Linked DNA regions of Homo sapiens: regions 1, 2 and 4 are each linked to region 3. The links are contacts of gene promoters, found by promoter capture Hi-C in blood cells and fetal thymus (Javierre and others, 2016). All regions are on one chromosome and are shown on one strand. The core of a region is centred on a gene start or on the middle of the fragment in contact, and the rest is flanking DNA. Distances in the headings are between cores, read along the strand shown.

Evidence for each region. Contacts are between HindIII fragments. The CHiCAGO score rates a contact against its expected background, and 5 or more counts as called.
Region 1: a fragment that was not itself captured here is called in contact with the fragment with the promoter of GAS5 in region 3 in 1 of 17 cell types (activated CD4 T cells); the score reaches 5.8 in activated CD4 T cells.
Region 2: a contact is called between a fragment that was not itself captured here and the fragment with the promoter of GAS5 in region 3, in 2 of 17 cell types (total B cells and naive B cells). The highest score is 7.5, in total B cells.
Region 4: a contact is called between a fragment that was not itself captured here and the fragment with the promoter of GAS5 in region 3, in 1 of 17 cell types (neutrophils). The highest score is 7.6, in neutrophils.

The regions. Positions count from the first base shown.
Region 1 is chr1:172,538,905-172,543,755 of GRCh38, forward strand. The region is part of intron 1 of SUCO (SUN domain containing ossification factor); the gene reads left to right. Among named protein-coding and RNA genes, the nearest start is that of SUCO, 8.2 kb to the left of the region's middle. The HindIII fragment of the contact is 6,568 bases long and covers 1-4,851 here.
Region 2 is chr1:172,814,560-172,820,068 of GRCh38, forward strand. LOC107985225 (a long non-coding RNA gene) reads right to left here and starts at 3,138. Exons shown (of 3, transcript XR_001738297.2): 1 at 2,994-3,138; 2 at 2,655-2,788; 3 at 999-1,569. RefSeq lists an enhancer at 4,519-4,968. The HindIII fragment of the contact is 152 bases long and covers 1,956-2,107 here.
Region 3 is chr1:173,866,140-173,871,398 of GRCh38, forward strand. It overlaps GAS5 (growth arrest specific 5), which reads right to left and starts at 1,850. Exons shown (of 12, transcript NR_002578.4): 1 at 1,821-1,850; 2 at 852-904; 3 at 622-657; 4 at 389-428; 5 at 38-67. ZBTB37 (zinc finger and BTB domain containing 37) reads left to right here and starts at 2,241. Exons shown (of 5, transcript NM_001122770.3): 1 at 2,241-2,266; 2 at 2,786-2,981; 3 at 4,061-5,009. The coding sequence starts at 4,087. SNORD75 (small nucleolar RNA, C/D box 75) reads right to left here and starts at 799; the gene lies at 740-799. SNORD74 (small nucleolar RNA, C/D box 74) reads right to left here and starts at 1,606; the gene lies at 1,535-1,606. It also overlaps SNORA103, SNORD77 and SNORD76. RefSeq lists a silencer at 2,276-2,685 and enhancers at 2,320-3,519, 4,034-4,133. The HindIII fragment of the contact is 5,638 bases long and covers 1-3,531 here.
Region 4 is chr1:174,968,518-174,973,371 of GRCh38, forward strand. It overlaps RABGAP1L (RAB GTPase activating protein 1 like), which reads left to right. Exons shown (of 26, transcript NM_001366446.1): 21 at 760-870. Among named protein-coding and RNA genes, the nearest start is that of RABGAP1L-AS1, 17 kb to the left of the region's middle. The HindIII fragment of the contact is 6,694 bases long and covers 1-4,630 here.

The DNA.
Region 1 (4,851 bases), core at 855-3,354, 1.3 Mb before region 3:
TTTGCATAACACTTGAACACTGTGTCCAATAAAAGACGGCAAATGACGTGTTTCATGTTGGTCCTTTATGTTATTAAACATTTGAGGATATACTGGAATGGAAGCAGGCAGTAGGGTTGACAGGCAATGGAAAAAATAAAAGGTATCAGCTCTTTTGAGTATTGGTTATTTCATTTTTCGTTTGTTCATGAACTTGTACATCACTCTTTCACTTTTCTCAACAGTCTGAATGGAGAAAAGAATCAATATGTATAATTAATATTCTTATGCTTATAATGAAAGGGAAACTTATAAAAATTTAAGTGCTTTATTATTCTCAAGTCATCTTCAAATAGAAACACCTGTATGTACGTGATGCTTTTGTTTAGTAGTTTATACATAACTGGAAAGAGATGAAATCTCTTGAAACTTATCTACATGTTTTAGATTATACTTTAGTGCCAGTTGTATGTTATGTTTTTCAAGGCCATATTTTAGACTAATTTAAAAGTCAAATTGTACATGTCACAAGGGAATAGGAAATTGCTTTTGAATATTTGCAGTATAAGAGTGTTAATCCTTTGGGATGAATTTGTTTAATAAATGCAAGTTTTTTTGAAAGAAGATTTGGTTTTAGGACTTTATAATTAATTGCTAGTTAAAATTATTTTATATTTTACATGAAAGTGACACCTGGCTGTATCAGAAAGTATTCTGTAACATTAATACGGTTCATAGGTACTAAGCTAATTTTGTATTATTATGTAGCGTTTGTAATCTACTGGAGAAAAAACATGTAAAGGCTAAGAACAGTGCCTCACTCGTAGTAAGCACTACTGTATGAGTTATTCATTGACTCTAGCTACTTTGGTAATTTGTTGAGTAGAAATAAGATGGCCTAGGTTTCAGAGTTAAAAATGGGAATTTATAAATCCACTTAAATATTATTTGATTATTCACAATGTATTTGGTGTGATGAAGGATACAGAAGAATTGTGAGACTTGAGCTCTGTATATAAGCTGCTTGTTACAATACAGATAGTGGTGTAGTGTGAAAGGCATAAAACTATGTCAGAGCTTGGTTGTAGTTCTTTCTTTTCATTGTTAATATGAACATTTATTGAGTGATTATTTCTCTTCTAAGTACTAAATACTATTCAGTGTAATATGCATTAAATTATTTTATTCTCTGTATAGATGTTTTAAGGCAGACACTCCATTTTAAAGATGAAGAAAGGTGGGCACAAAGAAGTTAAGTTCTTAACAGCTTGCCCAAGTTCTTACAGCCAGGAAGCAACAGAGCCAGAACTAAGAAGGCCAGGTTCTAAGCCTGTGTTCTCTTAACCGGTATGCTGTGCTGCCAGTTGGCTGGTAGATGGTCTTGGGCAAGTTTCTTCACTTTTTCTAGTTAATAATTTTATCTGGCAAAGTGTCAGTTTTTTTCATCTGAAAATGTGGGTGCCTGTATTAGCCTAGGAAGGAATGGACATTGGAATTGTTCATGAAACTTTTAAAAGAAATACGCATACCTAGGATTCTTACCTTGTAGATTTTGTCAGTAAGTTTGTGATACTCTTTTATGCATTCAAGTCTGTATTACTGTATTAGGTGAACTCAGTTTATTTTTTATATGTCTAACATTCTAAGATACTTGATTTGAATGTTAATAAACAACACATAAAACTGAACTGCATAGTAAGTGCTTAAGAGGAGAAAATGAGGGCTAGAGTTCTCAAGGAAGGCTTGACTTGGGTTTAAGGGAAATGTGTGGTTTATAAACTCTGCTTCTGTGCAAACAGGAGCTTCATGAGCTGAAATAAGATGTACTGGTGTTGATAACATGAATAATGGCTATTTCTTTGTGTGTGCATGTGTATGTCTGTCTGCCTGCTTGCAGTGGGTAGATGGCACTTAATTGTCAAGGAGAAAGAGAGTTATGAATGGAAGAGATAATCTAGTTGATATGGGTAAGAGTGGTAGTAAACAGAAAAGCCTGAGGAGAAAGAGAGAGATTTCAGAGATTGTGGTAGATTTTGCAAACCAGTCCAAAGAATTAGATAATAAAGATTCAGCAAGAAAAGTGGTGTTGTGAGAACATTATTTTGACATAATTGTGCTAGATTTGTTTTTAGAGGAAGGAGACTTAGAGGGGTGAATACAATTGGCTTTCCACATCCACAGATTCAACCAACCTCAGGTTGAAAATATATTTTAAAAACAATAAAAATAACAATACAACAATAAAAATACAAATAAAAACAATGTTGTATAACAGCTATTTACATAGCATTTACATAGTGTTAGGTTTTAAATCACCTCTAGATATTATATGGGAGGATATGCATAGATGTTTTAAATCACCTCTAGATATTTTAAATCACCTCTAGATACTTATATGGAAGGATATGCATAGATGTTTTAAATCATCTCTAGATATTTTAAATCACCTCTAGATATTTATATGGGAGGATATGCATAGGTGATATGCAAATGCCATTTTATGTAAGAGACTGGAGCATTCTCAGATTTTGGTATCTTCGGATCCTGGATCCAACCCCTTCTGGATCCCAAGGGATGACCGGGCTAAAAAGCCCTTGGAGTAATTGAGGCTTGTCATAAGAAGGACTTCATCTTGGCAGTAGAAATAAAGAACAGGGTACAATAAATAGAGATTTTTGAGGAGGTAAATGATTTAATTTTGTGAAAGGTTGGCAAGCTGGCAGTAGTGCAGTGCAGTGCAGCAGATAACAGCATTAGGCTAGGATTCTAAATAACTGGATTTTAGTTTGCCTCTAACCAAACTCTGTTCAACATCCCCTTTCTGTTGTCCATCTCAATGCAAAGAGATATTTACTTAGGCTTCAGTGTGCTGTATCCTATACAGGATTCTGGTGGACAAAACAAAGTAACTGCTTTCTTGGAGCACACTGTCACTGAGAGTACATTCTAGGGCCTAAAATTATGAATCTGTGAAATAAAGTTCAATGAGAAAAGAAATGTTAAGCATTTTTTGTTTGTTTTCTGTTTGTTTGCTTGTTTGTTTTAACTTGGGCAACTAGAAGAATTGGTGGTGGTCAAAAAGAAGTGGAAGAGTTGGCAAAGGGCTTGGAAGGGGAAGGAGCTGTTAGTTGGAGGTGAATGGAATATCCAAGTGGAGACATTTTATGGGCACTTAAAAATGCAGACTTGAATGCAGATAAAATTTGGCCTGGAGTGCCAGGCACGGTGGCTTATGCCTGTAATCCCAGCACTTTGGGAGGTCGAGGCAGGCGGATCACCTGAGGTCAGGAGTTCGAGACCAGCCTGACCAACATGGAGAAACCCCGTCTCTACTAAAAAAAATAGAAAATTAGCCGGGCATGGTAGCGCATGCCTGTAATCCCACCTACTTGGGAGGCTGAGGCAGGAGAATCACTTGAACCTAGGAGACGGAGGTTGCGGTGAACCAAGATCGTGCCATTGCACTCCAGCCTGGTCAACAAGAGCGAAACTCCGTCTCAAAAAAAAAGAAAAAAAGTTGGCTGGAGTTATCCTCGTAAAGCAGAGGTCCCCAGCCCCTGGGCTGCGGACCAGTACTGCTCCGTGGTCTGTTAGGACCCTGACCTCACAACAGGAGGTGAACAGCAGGTGAGTGAGCATTACTGCCTGAGCTCCACCTCCTGTCAGATTAGCAGCAGAATTAGATTCTCATAGGAGCATGAACCCTACTATGAACCACACACGCGAGGGATCTAGGTTGTGTACTCCTTATGAGAATCTAATGGCCCCCCACCCCATCCATGGCAAAGTAGTCTTCCATGAAACTGGTCTCTGGTGCCAAAAGGTTGGGGACCGCTGTCATAGAGGGAATCATTTTTGAAAGAGAACATTGGACTTTTGAAACAGAATAAAGAAAGGTGCCAAGCATAGTAAAGCTCTGAAAGAAAGGAGGAAACTGGAAAGGATGGATGGAAAGAGATTTAAGGAAGTCATTTAAGTGGTCAACAATATAAAATGTCTTAGATAAGTTTGGAGAGCTTGAAAACTGAGAAACTTTTCAAAAGAGGGAAGTGATTGATAGCTTTTGGGAGTGGAGAATAATAGAAGATATTTGGAGAGCTGGTAGGCATGAATTCCACACATTTGTTTGGTAGCCAGGAGATGTAGAAGAGTACATAAAAAAAAAAAAGTTAACATGTAGAGTAGCTTCATACTTGTATGCTGCAACCCATTTTACACAGTGCCACTGGATTTGTCTTACATGCAGCTTTGATTATGTCAGTCCCCTGATGAAATATCTTTCAAAGGCTCCTTGAAGGATAAAACTTTAAACCTTGATAATTTTTAAATGCCTGCAGTCTGACCCACACTTACTGTTGTAGCTTTATTTTCTGCTTTTCCTAATAGAGACTTTGTTTGAGCATGACTGATCTGTTGGCCTGGTAGTAATTTATTTGAGGACTATTTTTGTAGTCTCTAATTGAAAATTAAGGTAACAAAACTACTGTCACTTGTGTTTTAGAGGCTAAATACACTGTACCCAATTTCTGAAAATATATTATTATCAAGTATAGGGCATGATTATTTCCAGCATCTTAGAGGACAAATTGTATTGGCTGAATTTCTAATGGTAGGTTATAATGGTAGGATATAAAAACAGAACATATCACATTTGTTTACTAAGTGCTTCTCTATGTTGGATCAATGAAATTATGGGCCAGTTTAGTGAAACAATTTTCTAATAGAATTTGATATGTGGAATATTAAGCTAAGAAAATTTAAGACCCAATCCTACATCAGAGTGAAGTTAAAAGTCAGAACTACTGAAATGCAAAGGTTTAATTAGAAACAGGCACTAGAACATAGAACTTTCTCAGCTAAGCTGTACAATTG
Region 2 (5,509 bases), core at 782-3,281, 1.1 Mb before region 3:
TAGAGCTGAAGCAGCTGGGGTGCAGGGCACCATGTCCTGAGGCTGCATTGAGCAAGGGGGCCCGGGGCCCAGCCCATGAAACCATTTTTCCCTCCTAGGCCTCCGGGCCTGTGATGGGAGGGGCTGCTGTGTCTCTTATATGCTCTGGAGACATTTTCCCCATTGTCTTGGTGATTATGCAAATTTCCACTACTGGCTTGAATTTCTCCCCAGAAAATGAGGTTTTCTTTTCTATCACATCATCAGGCTGCAAATTTTCCAAATTTTTATGCTCTGCATCCTCTTAAATGCTTTGCCACTTAGGAATTTCTTTCACCAGATACTCTAAGTCATCTCTCTCAAGTTCAACGTTTCACAGATCTCTAGGGCAGAACCAAAAGATGCTGCCGGTCTCTTTGCCTAGCAAGAGTGACCTTTATTCCCATTCCTAAAAAGTTCCTCATCTCCATCTGAGAGCACTTCAGCCTGCATTTTATTGTCCATATCACTATCAGTATTTTGGTCAAAGCCATTCAACAAGTCTAGGGAGCTCCAAACATTTTCACATTTTTCTTTCTGCTTCTGAGCCTCCAAACTGTTTCAACCTCTGCCCAGATCCAAAGTCACTTCCACATTTTTGGGTTTCTTTACAGCAGCACCCCACTCTCTGTGGTACCAATTTACTGTATTAGTCTGTTCTAACACTGCTAGTTAAGACATACCTGAGACTGGGAAATTTGTAAAGGAAAGAGGTTTAATTGACTCACAGTTCAACATGGCTGGGGAGGCCTCAGGGAACTTACAATCATGGTGGAAGGGAAAGCAAACACATCCTTCTTCACATGGCGGCAGCATGGAGAAGTATGAAAGCTGAGTGAAGGGAGAAGCCCTTATAAAACCATCAGATCTCATGAGAACTTAATCACTGTCATGACAATAGCATGGAAGAACTACCCCATGATTCAATTACCTCTCACCAGATCCCTAGGACTCTTAAACTGTTTATTTTTCTTCACGCTTTTTTTTCTTTTTGTTCCTCAGACTGGACAATATCAAACTCAATTTCACCATGTACTTAACTTTACTTATGCTCTTTATTTCTTTGTGTGGATTCAAGTTACTCTCTAGTGTTGTTTAATTTTGCCTGAAGAATTCCCTATACTATTTCTTGTGAGGGAGATCTGCTAGCAGTAAATTTTCTCAGTTTTTGTTTATCTGAGAATGTCTTAAACTCCCCTTCACTTCTGAAAGAAAATTTTGCTCAATATAGAATTTTTGTGTGAGATTCTTTTTCTTTTAGCACTTTAAATATGTCATCCAACTTTTTTGGCCTTCTTAGTTTCAGATCATATGTCAGCTGTTCATTTCATTGCAGATCCCTTGTATGTGATGAATCATTTTTGCTGGCTGCTTTTGGGATTCATTTTTATCTTTGACAGTTTGACTAATACATGTGTAGGTGTGTACCTCTTTCAGCTTATTCTACTTGGAGTTGTTGAGCTTTTTTGATGTGTAGATTAAGATTTTCATCAGTTTGGGACATTTTCTGCCATTATTTTTTCACATACCAATATATGTACCATGGGAGTCCTAGAAGGAGAGGAGAGAGAAACAAAAGGACATAAAGAATATATATGTCCTAAGAATTTTCAATACCATTTACTAACTATTAGATAGAAGTAATAGTTTTTTCTCCCCCTTATTAATCTCTTTTTTCTTCTACTTAATCATTAAGAAATATCGCCTTTTATAATAGTCACTAATATGTGACTATTTATAATCAAAAATAATATGAGAATCAATCATATGCAAGTTGATATAATACGACACAATTTGCCAGAGAGAAGTTATACAGAAGGAGGAAATAAGAAGAAGAAGAGCAAGTTGAGTGTTCTATGGTTTTGTCAGCTTTGTCCCTTCCAATTTGCTAAAGCTTATGTGGTTTCCTTTACTATAGTGAATATGTGAGGGGAAGAAGCTTGAAACAAGGAGGTCCTGTTATATGCCAATATTGATCTATAAAAACTCTAGATGAAGCTGAAAAAGTTCTGGGGTAAAATCCAAGGACACAAGTAATAGACATTTAAGAATCATTACATTTTCTTTCTAAGTAAGAATGTAGAAGTCAAGCTTTATATAATTCAAGAGGAGCAGAAAGGTAAGAATAACCTAGAGAGAAGAGCAAGGAAGTGGGATTCTAGGAGAAAAGGTTTTTTGTTTGTTTGTTTGTTTGTTTGTTTGTTTTTTGGCAGGAGGTGTGACAAAAATGGAAAAGAGAAAGTAAAAAATATGGGTAACCCCACAAGAAAAGCAAATACAAAGGTCAAATCGGGTGAGTAAGAATAAGTGCATGAAATAAAGAGGGATGAACAAACGGGGTGGGGAATTTTCAGGGTAGGAGAAAAAGATGGGAACTTTGAAAAAAGTGGGAATAAGGGAGAAAAGGGTATTAGTACTGAGCTTTGAAGGAATGGTTGAGGGAATTATAGAAGGTCAAATGATGGAAATGGGTGCAGCTTGAGAGAAAAAAAGAGTTACTGGGTTAGGATGACAAGAAAGGCAAAGTGATGAGGCTTTGCCTTTGACTCTTGGACTGTGTTTAATGAAGCTAAAAGCACACACTTGTTAGGTTATAAAGTGAGGTAAAGAACTATCGAGGGAGAGAGACTGAGTACCTGATGTCAATTCTTATTACAGTTCTTTAAGATTTCTGTTTTATCAAAGGATCTCACTTTCTTCCCACCTCATTCTACAATGTAGTAGTATTCTAACACTCATGCACATCAAGGTACTTGTGGGAGAGAATATCCTGTAAGAAAAACATATACAACCTATAGATTTCTGATTCATAGCACATGAGGAGTTCATTAAAAACACACAGAAAATAACAAGACAAAAAACTTTGGACACCCCCCTCCCGAAGCTCATTCATGGGTCCCATCCTTTAATCTCACCAATTTACATAAATATGAAACACCTGACCAAGTTTTCAAGTAATTTGTCACTCATCTTACCTCCTAAGGAAGACTATGTTTTCATTTAACAACAAATAGGCCAGGTGCAGTAGCTTATACCAGTAATCCCTTTAGAACGCCAAGGTAGGAGGATCGCTTGAGGCCAGGAGTTTGAGACCAGCCTAACATACAAGGACCTTTGATTCTGCAAAAGATAAAAAGCATTAGCTGGGCATGGTGGTGCTCACCTATAGTCCTAGCTATCCAGGATGCTGAGGCAAAAGGATCATTTGAGCAAAGGAGTTCAAGGTTACAATGAGCTGTGATCGCATCACTGCATTCCAGTATGGGTGACAGTTCTTGCTCACAAGAACCTGTCTTTATAAAACAAATGAACAACTTAACAACAAATACTTGTTAACAGATATTTAATTTACTATGTGCCAGATATGTACTCCAGGCACCTGAACAACATGAAAATAGAATGTTTTGTTTTCCTCTAGCCATGTCTATTTGCTGGTGTAGTCAGACAGTTTGGGGACAAGCAGAGGATTGTGGTGTTTTTGATGGTGGTGAAAGTGGAAGGATTATCCCAGGGATAGCATTATTAATCCCATATCATAATAAGGCCTGAGTGAAAAGACCCCTGACCTGGCAAATATCAGATTCTGCTAGATATGAAATGAAAATGAAAATTACCTTATTTTGGATACTTTGGAAGCCTGCTTTGTATTTTCCCTCCAGAGTCAGTATTGTATCAATGTGCTATGAATTTTCAATACCATTTACTGAGTAACTATTAGATAGAAGTAATAGTCTTTTTCTCCCCCTTATTAATCTCTTTTATTCTTCTACTTAATCATTAAGAAATATAGCCTTTTATAATAGTCAGTAGCTACAACTTTGCTGTCCCTAGGGCCCAATGTTTGGCTGAGGTGTCCTCACTTAGTGTGCACGTGACCAGAGCTCTGCAGTGACTCGGAGCAGCAGCAGAAGGGGAAATAAGGAAGTGGCACCATCTCGGGACCTGAAAATCAAGCTAGAAGAGCCCTAATCATTCATCTGTCATCAGCACATAAACATCCCTTTTCTACTGGTACTCAGACAAGGCAGGCTTGCTTGAATGCACTACTTGCTCTGAAGTTCTTCATTTATAAAATAATAGACCAGGAATGGCGGAAGGGGTGTGTGTGTGTGTGTGTGTGTGTGTGTGTGTGTGTGTGTGTGTTCATATGTGTGTATAATGTACATCTCTTCTTTGACCCCCTTTGGTTTCCAGTGTTTGCATCATTAACTAAGCTGATTGTGACTGCCCTCTACATTTATTTAAATAAGATAGAGTATTTTAAAAAGAAACTTAACGTAGGCCTTGGCACTTAGGGATGCTCAGTTATAGCGCCTGTGTATAAAAGCACCCAAGGGGTTTACATGGCCAGACTTTTCACCACTTCTGTATTCTTGGCTGGCCTCCCTCCTCTGAAACCTCAGCTGGGGAGGGACCCAACTGTAAGAGATTTGTTTTCTGTGACATTTGCTATTTGTTGCTGGCTCACTGTTTCGGTGGGGGAGGTGTCATGCTAAAGTCTGTAGGGGTAGTAGACCATGCACTTTTTGAGACTATTACTCATCTCTCTCATGGAGAATGTCACCCAGTGTCACTTCCCCCATTTTTTGGTGTTTTAGAGCCGACCGAGTCCTTGTCACTCATGCAGCAAGGAGCAGACTTCAGAGCCTCAGTCAGAGAAAGTGGAGGAGGAGGCATCTTGCTTTCCCTCCCCCTTTCTTTTCAGCATTTCTGCATTTAGGTGAGCCCTTCTAGCTGTGTGTCCCTTGAGGAGTGTGACAGATTTGCTTTGCCCTTTAGCTTTGTGGTGAGGAGTCTCTTGCTTATTTTAAATAATATGACAATCTTCCTGGGCTGTAGGGCTTGAGAAGATGAACTTGTCAACAGAAATGTCTGTTGGTTTCAGTTTCTGCCTATTACCCTGTGAAACCAAGGCACAGGGTAAAATTTCTCAGTTTTGTTTTCTCGTATTTCAAGGCCTTCACATTTTACCCCCAACATTTTAATGCATAAGAGAGCTTTCTATCTGAACTTTGATTTGCGCTTAAGTTTAAACTAAACGTTTTCTCTAGATTGAGGTGGATCTTGGATGAACTATCCCTTTCCTCCCCATGTGCAGTGGCATGCCTCAGTACCACAGAGCCACTTTCCCTATGGTAGGCTAGGTCAGGGGACAGAAGGCTTTTGCATTGAGCTGTGTATGCGGGACACTGGGTTAGACAAAGTTGCACAGTTTTCCTTGGGAGTCAGTCAACACATATGCATTATTCAGTCCTCTTATATGCCAGGCACTGCGTGGGTGCTGCAGACGTAAGGCCTCTCACGCCTCTAGGATCACCGACTTTTATTTTATTGTGTAGCATCTCTTGAGTCTGGGGTGCTAAGGAACATGCTTTGGGAAAGCCTGTCTAGCTTGAAGAAGATCTAATCTATTATTTGTAGAAACCCTAGGAGGTGATTGTATAATGGCTTTTTATCTTCTATTCATGGAGGCTTACTGTCTAGAAGACCT
Region 3 (5,259 bases), core at 600-3,099:
CCCAGTTACCTGCTTACTTGGATACAGTTTCACTTACCATTTCAACTTCCAGCTTTCTGTCTAATGCCTGTAATTTTAATACAAAATTGTCAGCAAAAAATATTTTAATGGTAGATTGGTGGTACACTGCTTAACCATTAACAGCAAACCACAACTACCCCAGATACATCAGACAGATAGTACATCTCTTCATGATTAAATCTGCTGAACTATGCAACCATCATAGTATCTGTTTTCACATTTTCTTCAGTATTAAACTTAGTATCAATATGAGAGCAAAATTCTCATTTGAAAAGAGGGGAGAGAAGCACTAACATAGATAATCATCATTGCTTTGGCTATTTTCTAATCCCTTAAAAGTGAGAAGTACAAAATAGAGGTGTCTCACCTGTGTGCCAATGGCTTGAGTTAGGCTTGCTCTTTAGGACCTGGGAAGAAACAACTTCATGTGAACTTAGGTGTACTCTCTATGTTCCCCAACTCACCATTTTGGGTGCCTCAGTTAAGATAATGGTGGTTAAGATCCTCATCATTCTAGCACTCAAGAGTAGCAAATAAACTGTCATCATTGTGGCACATCCAATGGCTTTAAACCTTTTTGAGAGGGAATTTTCAACTTACTTCAGTAGCTATTCTCATCCTTCCTTGGGGACACAACTAGAAAACAAAAAGATGCAAGCAAAACAGTGAGAATGAACCTCACAGCAGTCACGTTAAATATAAATGCTGTTAACATTAAAGCCTCAGAATAGAATTTCAGAAATCCCTTCTGTCCACTACTCTTAAAGCATCACAGGCTGAGACCACCTCTTAGATTTCATTCTTCCCACCATACTTTCCCCAATTCTTACCTGTCCATAAGGTGCTATCCAGAGCCACACTGCATCTGCACCCAGCACCATACCTAAAGAGATCAGGTACAGATTTTAATTCATTGTTCCACGGTTCTTTTTTTTAAAGAGTGTTCTTTAAAAAAACGGTTCGTCTTTTTAAACCAATGATGCAGGTAACATACCATTCATTATCTAGCGACAGGTAAAGGATACACTTAATGTTACAAAGAAGCACTGCACCCGCAGTTAAGAACCACCGATGGCGGCCGGGCGCGGTGGCTCACGGCTTGTAATCCCAGTATGTTGGGGGACCACGGCTGGTGGATCACCTGAGGTCAGGAGTTCAAGACCAGTCTCGCCAACATGGTGAAACCCCGTCTCTACTAAAAATATAAAAGCCTAGCATGGTGGCGCGCGCCTGTAGTCCCAGTTACTTGGGAGGCTGAGGCAGAACTGCTTAACTCGGGACGCGGAGGTTGCCATTAACCGATGTCGAGCCACTGCATTCCAGCCTGGGTGACAGAACGAGGCTCGGTCTCAAAAAAGAAAAAAGAAACACTAATGGAAATATTGGTGACACTGCGGAATGCAGGCACTTAAGCACGTGGACTACCACCGACAGCCTTTCATGAGAGCGGACGGCTGATGGAGGCTCGGGTCACGGCCCTTAACAATAGCTTACTCGGGTGACTCGGCATGTGCCACCATCAGAGCGGTTGGCATTCATCATTACTCTCAGATGTCCCTACCAACACAGGCTTCATCAGAGGCAGGGCACGAGAGCCGAGGCTTCTCCGCAGTTCTACTCTAACATAGTCGCAGCTTAGGTCACGCATGCACCATATGTGCAATCCCCCACCATCCTCAACTTGTAGGCCCTGCAAAGGCGCGCGACTGGCTTAGAAGTCCCAGTCAATTCAGGGTGACCTTAGCAGACAAAGGCTGGAGCGCCCCAAAACCCGCAACATTCGCAAAGATAAAACATACCTCACAGGAGTCGACTCCTACCTCGAAAAGACAGTATGGTGCCTGGGCTCCTGTATATAAGAGTTCTTTTGATGACGTCACGACGCACGCTCCCGGCAGCGTCCGCTTCGGCTCCTCCCCCTAACCTCCCTCAATCTTCCTCTCATCCAGTATCACCTTCTTCCCACCCCTTAAGTCCGCCCCTTTTCCCCGCCCTTCCTCGCCATTGTGGGCAGAGACATGACCGTCCACGTGATGCCGTGCTCCCGCCCTCCTCCCGACTGAGGAGGAAGAGCAGAGAGGGGAGGGGGCGCGAGGCAAGGAAAGCTCTGGGGATGGGGGAAGGGGGGGCGGTGTAAGGCTGAGTGATTTCCTTCCGGCACGTCGCCCGCTCCGTGGGAGGGGGTGGGGGATTTCACTTCCGGGACGGTGTTCCGGCCCATTCCGGCCCATTTCCACCCCCGGAGGTAGGTGCTGCTCCTTGACTGGACTCGGGCCCCACACCCCAGTGCCACTTCCCTGCACCGGGGTCACCTCGCCCGCCCTCCGCCGCAGCGCGCTCCTGGGGCGCTCAGCTACTTTCCTTCACCCCGCCTCCAGGCACCGGGCGACCTTCCACCCCCTTGGCCCCCGGCCGGGCTGATCTGCCGGACCCGCCCCCTCGCGGGGCCCCTCCCTCAGGACCCCGGGAAGGGCGGCCCCCTCCCCCACCGCAGCCGGGACACACCCAGATACGCACACCCACCTCCTGGCAGCTCCCCGCCCGCCGCCGCCTGGAGCCGGTCCCTGGGCGCCGCCCCCTTCCTAGTTCTCACCTGAGCGCTGGCTCCCCCGCCCGACGCCTTGTCCCCATCTTCTCCGAAGTTCCTCAGTGACATTTTGCCCTTTAGCCAGTTCCCCTCTCCCCAGGCTTCCTAACGCAGAAGAAAGCTGCTCAAGTGCTGGAGTGGCCAACCCCATGCCGTTCCCAATTCTCCCTTTTACAGCTCTCACCCCTCCAGTGCCGACGGTAGCGAAAGACTTTCCTCCAGGGGCTTCCTCACTGGGGAATTGCCGGAAAGAGCAAACAAAAAAGGCGCTGGTGTAGGCTCCAAAATAAACACATCTGAATTCATGATGGCATCGACAGAGGCTCTTATTGGATTAAAAGTTTCAAAACAAACAATAACGCTTTGGAAAAAGGTCAGATTGGCTAAAGTTGATTGTTGAAAACAGTGTATACACTTCCCTATTTAATAAGTGTGTTGTTAATGCGGGGCAGTACTGTGAGCTTGGCAGAGTAAGTTCCTGAAGTTTCAGGTGTGGTGTAACTATGTAATATATAGATAAGTGAACGCACATTGGGCTTAAGTAAATGTCTTCCTGTTCGGATTTATACAAACTATTTTCAGTAGTTGAAACTGTACTTTCAACTATCTTGTATACAGCTTCAGGTTTAGTGTTTCAGCCATTTTTTAAAAATATTTTAATGGAAAAATGTTGGCATACTTGGTAAATGCTGTATTTTTTCATCGGATCTGGAGAACTAAGTTTCAGGATGGAAGTATTCATCACCACCTCGGAATTGCCAACTTCGAATTTGGCAGATTTACCCAGCTTTCCTAATTTTGACAACTGAACTTCACATTCTCTGCATCTTGGTTGAATCCTGGCACAGCTGTGGGATTTTTCCTAGAGTTTGCTTCACAGCCCTATAACCAAAGTCTTTTTGTGGGGGGGGCTCTGATTCTTAAGCTTAGAAATATTAGCCTACATTCATGTGGGATATTAGTCCTTTTATAAAATAATAAACATAATTCTTGCAGCAGGTAGTAAAATACTAAGAAGAGGGATATCAAGCTATGTAGAATTGCATTTATTCAGAAAGCTTTCCTCCTCCAGAGAAAAGTTGTAAAGTTATGAGATGTTATATTCAGTCTGCAAGTACCTTATAGTTAACACTTAAAAGTCCTTCCCCCTACCTTCTGTTGAACTTCTGTTTTGATGTTATATAACTTATTAGTAAGGAAAGCATGGTCATAACATGAATTTTTAGGAGTCTAAAGATCACTTTTTAGTTTTAACTATGTCCTCCTGTGAAACTTAAACTGAAAAACCTGTTGGTGATTCTGTTTCCACATCTAAATATAAGGAAGGTATTTCTTTTATCTGGAGATTTTGAAACTTTACCAGATAACTATGTTTAAATACTTTTGAAATGGAAACCATCCGGGAAGTAAAATTATAATTATTAATGAGAATATGGTTTCTTTTTTCAGCAGGGTTGAATGCACCCTCAGGCACGACCATGGAGAAAGGTGGGAACATACAATTGGAGATTCCTGACTTCAGCAACTCTGTCCTGAGCCATCTAAACCAGTTGCGCATGCAGGGCCGTCTCTGTGATATTGTGGTCAATGTGCAAGGACAAGCTTTTCGGGCTCACAAAGTGGTGCTGGCTGCCAGCTCCCCCTATTTCCGGGATCACATGTCCTTGAATGAGATGAGTACAGTCTCCATTTCAGTCATCAAGAACCCTACTGTTTTTGAACAGCTCCTTTCTTTCTGTTACACAGGGCGGATATGCCTGCAACTGGCAGATATCATCAGCTACCTAACAGCTGCCAGTTTTCTGCAAATGCAGCATATTATAGACAAATGTACACAGATCCTGGAGGGCATTCATTTCAAAATTAATGTGGCTGAGGTTGAAGCAGAATTAAGTCAAACAAGGACAAAGCATCAAGAGAGACCTCCAGAGTCTCACAGGGTTACACCAAATCTCAACCGCTCCCTTAGCCCACGACATAATACCCCAAAGGGAAACCGGCGAGGTCAGGTTAGTGCTGTGCTGGATATCAGAGAGCTAAGTCCTCCTGAGGAGTCCACCAGCCCTCAGATCATTGAACCAAGTTCTGATGTAGAGAGCCGGGAGCCCATTCTTCGGATCAACCGAGCAGGACAGTGGTATGTGGAGACAGGAGTGGCGGACCGTGGGGGTCGGAGTGATGATGAAGTTAGAGTTCTTGGAGCAGTACACATCAAAACTGAAAATCTGGAGGAGTGGCTTGGGCCTGAGAATCAGCCTTCTGGAGAAGATGGGAGTAGTGCAGAGGAAGTAACAGCCATGGTGATTGATACCACAGGCCATGGTTCTGTAGGACAGGAAAATTATACTTTAGGGTCTTCAGGAGCCAAGGTGGCTCGGCCAACAAGCAGTGAAGTTGACAGGTAGGTTTGGTTTGGTTTGGTTTTCCCATGTAATGGCTATTGTGTAGACATCACTAAAGTGTCCTCTGTAGTACAGAGAGCATTTTCCTTACCTGATTTTCTTGGTCAAAATAAGTTGATGATGGGGAAACTGGAGGTGTGCCAAAAGACTTGCATTCTTATTTTTTTAAACCAGGAAGCTCCATTCCTGAAGTATTCACAATGTTGTGAGAACTGTGGTAAAGTTAGACACTTCCGTGAATCAGAATAG
Region 4 (4,854 bases), core at 34-2,533, 1.1 Mb after region 3:
TTTTTGTTTGTTTGTTTGTTTCGTTTTTTTGTTTGTTTTTTTATCATGTAACTTTGTTTCAGATTTTTCAAGGTTGGGAGCAGAAATCCTCAGTAATTTATTTTACCCAGAATGTTTTAATCTGAAATTTTTTAAAAAACAAAAAAACTAGATATCTTATGACTGTTGCTCTCACACAAAAATAGGTGTTCAGAAAAGTAAATATATTCTTACTCAAAGAATAAAAATGTCAGCTGTTAGCAAAGTCATGAACCCATGTGTCATGATTCTTGATTTAGAGCTCTTAAATATACTCAATATGAACCCTGTCTTAGAAAAACAATTTGAAGAAATGTCTGGTGGTTTTCCCCTGTTTCATTCCTACTGTGTCTTGTGGTTTCTCTTGAGGTCAAGGGTGAGACTACCGTGCATGTTTCAAATAAAGAATTGTTTGTGTCTGTGTTCTAGATCTATGTAAAAACCTCACAGGATTGGGGGGGATATGCTCAGAAAGTTTGTTCTTTGTGGCACATTTTTTATAATGAAGTTCCATCTTGAGAGTTTAAGGGACCAGTTTCACCGGGTAGAGAACCGCATCTGCATTGCTAGCTAAACTCACTGTTGTTTCCCAGACAGCAATCCTGCCTTCCTGTGCCACTTGCGCCTTCTCCTTTTTACACCTTTGAAAGTTCACTTTGTTGCTTGTTTTTCCTCACCAGTTCTGTTCGTTTCTGTATGTCCAGACACTAATGCCCACCTCTGGCTATTGTTCTTCTGCAGAGGGAGAACCGAAGATTACAGGAGGCCAGCATGAGGTTGGAACAAGAGAATGATGACCTTGCCCATGAACTAGTAACAAGCAAAATTGCTCTACGGAATGACTTGGATCAGGTAATCCTTAGAAATGAGACTGTGATGACTTCCTCAGGGCAAAGACCGATTTGCCCTCATCACCGCCCCCACAAACTTGCTTTGTTCTTGACTTTGTTCTTGAGGAATGGACAAGTGGCAGGGACAGTCTGTTAATTGGAGACCATGGAAAACATAAGCCTTTGAGAAAGGTTTGGGTCATTTCTAAATAGCATGTGTGACATACTTTCTTTATACCTCTAAACTCTGTTATGTCTTTGTTGATACCTTTCCTGAACCAATGGCTGTCAGCATAATTATCTGAGAACATCAGTCACCAAGAATATGCCTGTACTAATGCCACTCTAACAGTAGATGCCTTACTTTTTGTTCCAGTAAGAATTATTCTCCATAATAAATGTGAACTTTTACATGAAGTACCTACATTAAGAGTTGGATTGTTAGATTGATAGGCATCTGAGTGGCTGAGAGCCAGACTGCCTGATTGTGAATGCTGGCACCACCACTGTGAACCATATGACCCTGGACAGTTCTTAAGCTGTCTATAGGTATAAAAAGGTGTCTATCTCATAGAGATGATATAACAATTAAATAAGTAAAACACTTCGATAGTATGTGTTCATTAAATGTTAGATGTAGCTGAGAGAGCTGGCACTAAAGGGAATTCAAAAACAAAAACAAAAACTGTGTTGTTTGGGACACAGGATATGGAAGGTAGAAAAAGCTGCCCAGAGAATGGTTTTTTAAAAAGTTGTGGCCCTGTTAACCACAAACCTCATTCAGCCCACCCATTTGGAAGCTGTGAGAAGTGGTATGAGAAATATGTGACTAGGAGAGTCAGAACCAAAGAAGGTAGCCGGATCTCCATTCAATCAGGGTCAATTCAGCCTTACCTCAGTGGTCATATTTTTGTATTCATGAGACTGTTGAGATAAGTCAGTGCTATAATGAAAGTCTTGGTTCTATGTTAACTTTCCAAATGGTCTTGATTCACACTTGATTCTGCCATTTTGAATCTTTTATCCATTAATAATTTTCTTATGATGGCTGACTAAATGAAACAATTTTTAAACAGTTGGATTCAGTGGGGATGCAGTGAAATGAGCTAAGGAGAGTTTCAAAGTTGTTTGGCAAATGTAGTTGGTAATATGTGTTAAGACGTTAAAAGGTTTAAGCAATAATAAAATTAAATTTTACTATGTACCCACTATGTGCCAAGCACTAAATAAAGCAATTTATAAACATCATCTCATTTAATCTCCCTAATGACTCCAGGAAGCAGTTATTATTTTAATCCTCCATTTCATGAATGAGGAAACTATATAGATGAGGAAACTAGAGATCCTCTGACTTGTAAAGCTATCCTAAAAAAAAAAGATCTGTTTAAAAAAAATGTATATACAAGGTTGTTTACTGCAGTGTTACTTATAAGAATGAAAAATAGAAATATTATTTTATCTATGTTCACTAGTAGGGGAGAATGACAGTTTGACTGTAAAATGTCTTTCTGGAATAATTTTTGTTAATGGGAAAATAATGATAAAGTATTTTTTTAAAAAATACTTTTTTTTTTCTGTAAACAGTAAACATTTATAATGTTTGCATCTAAATTTCAAGGGCTACTGGCTGGCATTGGGTCATCCTATAGGGAAGGGGACCATAGTATACCTAGATAGGGAAGAAGCCCACAAGGAAATACATCAAAATGTTACTGCTAGGTATCTCTGGGTGATAAGATTAAATATAATTTTTATATTCATCTTTATAGTTTTTTCCCATTTAGAATTTATAGAAAGACCCTAAATTACTTAACCACCATAGGTTAACTAAAAATGAGCATTGGAACTTTTAAAAATCAGAAAAATAATGAACATTATAATATGCATATTATATATGAATATAATACTAAATAATATATATAACTTTAATAATCAGAAAAAAATTATTATCTTAAAAATCATTTCTTCACCAAGAGAACCCTTTATGTGAGTCAGTCTGGAGTGACTGCCATTATAGGTATTCCTGAAGTAATTGATTATTGAGTACCAGGGTAGCTCATGATGTGAGTGCTAGAACAGCCCCTGAAGAAAAGGTTCCATCAGACCTTCATTCTTCCTCTGCCTTCTCTCTTCCCTCCTTGACTCTCTTTCCCTCTCTTTTAAGAAAAGTAAATATGACCTGGACCCTCCCTTTGGGAGCTTTTTATCTAGATGAAAGAATCTAGATGAAAGAATAAAAACTGCTGTTTCATGCATATTTCCTCCTAACTTCTGATTTTGCAGTTTCCTCCTCATTGGGGTTTATTTGCTTACCAAAAAGCTGTCCCTGCAGTTGAAGTGACCTGCCCCACCAGTCTTCTAGGAAGGGCCCTAGCCTGAGAGTGAAAAGTACTGGCTTTGCAGGCCTTCACCTAGTTTGCCCAGTACTTTCCCATTCCCAGTTCATGAAAATCAGATCTCTTAATTAAAATAGCAAAACACTGGCAAACTTTAAACAAATATAAAAGTAGATTGTATTTAAGACAATATGTAAGCAAACAAACACTAATTAGGAAATTAGGTTCTTTGCAAAAATAAATCATTTCTTACTCTGACCATTTTAGTGCTAATTTCAGGCTTCCTGGGCACCAAAGGCTCTTCAGCTTTTCCCTCTGGCAGAGCCTTCCTCTCTTGAGAACTCGCCCTCTCTCGGATTCCTTAAATAAAGATTTCTCAGTGATTAGAAGTGAAAAAAAGGTGCAACATCTCCATTTCAGTTTCTGTTTGCTATCTGCTTTCAGGCCTTTCCTGTCCTTCCCTATTTGCAAGGAACAAAAGAGAAGAGACATGATTAGTACTGTCCTGCTGAGGACCAGGGGTCTAGGTTCCCTCTCACCATAGCAAGTTCTGTTAGACCAGAAGCTACATGGACTAAGTGGAAAATTATTTTGTTTTATTTTAAGTTGAACAACTGGCCTGGTTAGTTCTTTCAGAAATCATTTATCAGAGATCCTCATTTCTGATATTAGGGCTGAGTCTTTTCTGAGGTTATTGGTTGATTCATGATTAAATCACACATTGCAATGCTTGTTTCTCTCATACATATATAGCAGAAGCCTTAGATTGCAATTAGAACTTTCAGTATCAATGAGACATTATAAGATATTGTTAAGTATTTAGACTTGATAATGACAGTGTTTCAATCTTATCAAATTATGGTGAAGGCTGTCTGGTGCAGTGGCTCACGCCTGTAATCCTAGCACTTTGGGAGGCCGAGGCAGGTGGATTGCCTGAGCTTAGGAGTTCGAGACCAGCCTGGGGAACACGGTGAAACCGAGTCTCTATTAAAAATACAAAAAATTAGCCAGGTGTGGCGGCATGCGCCCGTAATCCCAGCTACTAGGGAGGCTGAGACAGGAGAATCTCTTGAACCTGGGAGGTGGAGGTTGCAGTGAGCCAAGATCGCACCATTGTACTCCAGCCTGGGTGACAGAGCGAGACTCTGTCTCAAAAAAAAAAAAAAAAAAAAAAAAATTATGGTGAAGGCTTTATAATTTGGGCTCAAAGGTAGAATTTGAAAGGCTTTATAATTTGGGCTCAAAGGTAGAATTTGTGTTTAGCATTTCATTCATTAACATTAAAATTAATTCCTACTTAAGTGAGGTATAGTGGTTGGCTGTACAAAAATTCAAAAGACCACTGTTAGAGGGATACTCAAGTTATTTCAGATCTGGCCCTACTTTGATGAACAGAACAATTGCTCCTACTTTTCTGTTTAACATAAGAGGAGAAACTGTGAATTAAGCTTCCTGGAAAACTGGACTCTTCCCTATAGGACCCACAACAATTGCTGCAGATGTTGTATATGGTAACAGTAGAAATAAGTGAAGTTGCCTTAATCTTGACCTAATGAAGACTGTTCAGCAGAAAATGTGCAAATAAAAATAATAGGTCTTCTTAGCATAAACATTTAGGTGTTTTTGAAAAAAATTCCTCGGGGAAGTGTTTTTCCCCCTTTTCTTTTCTT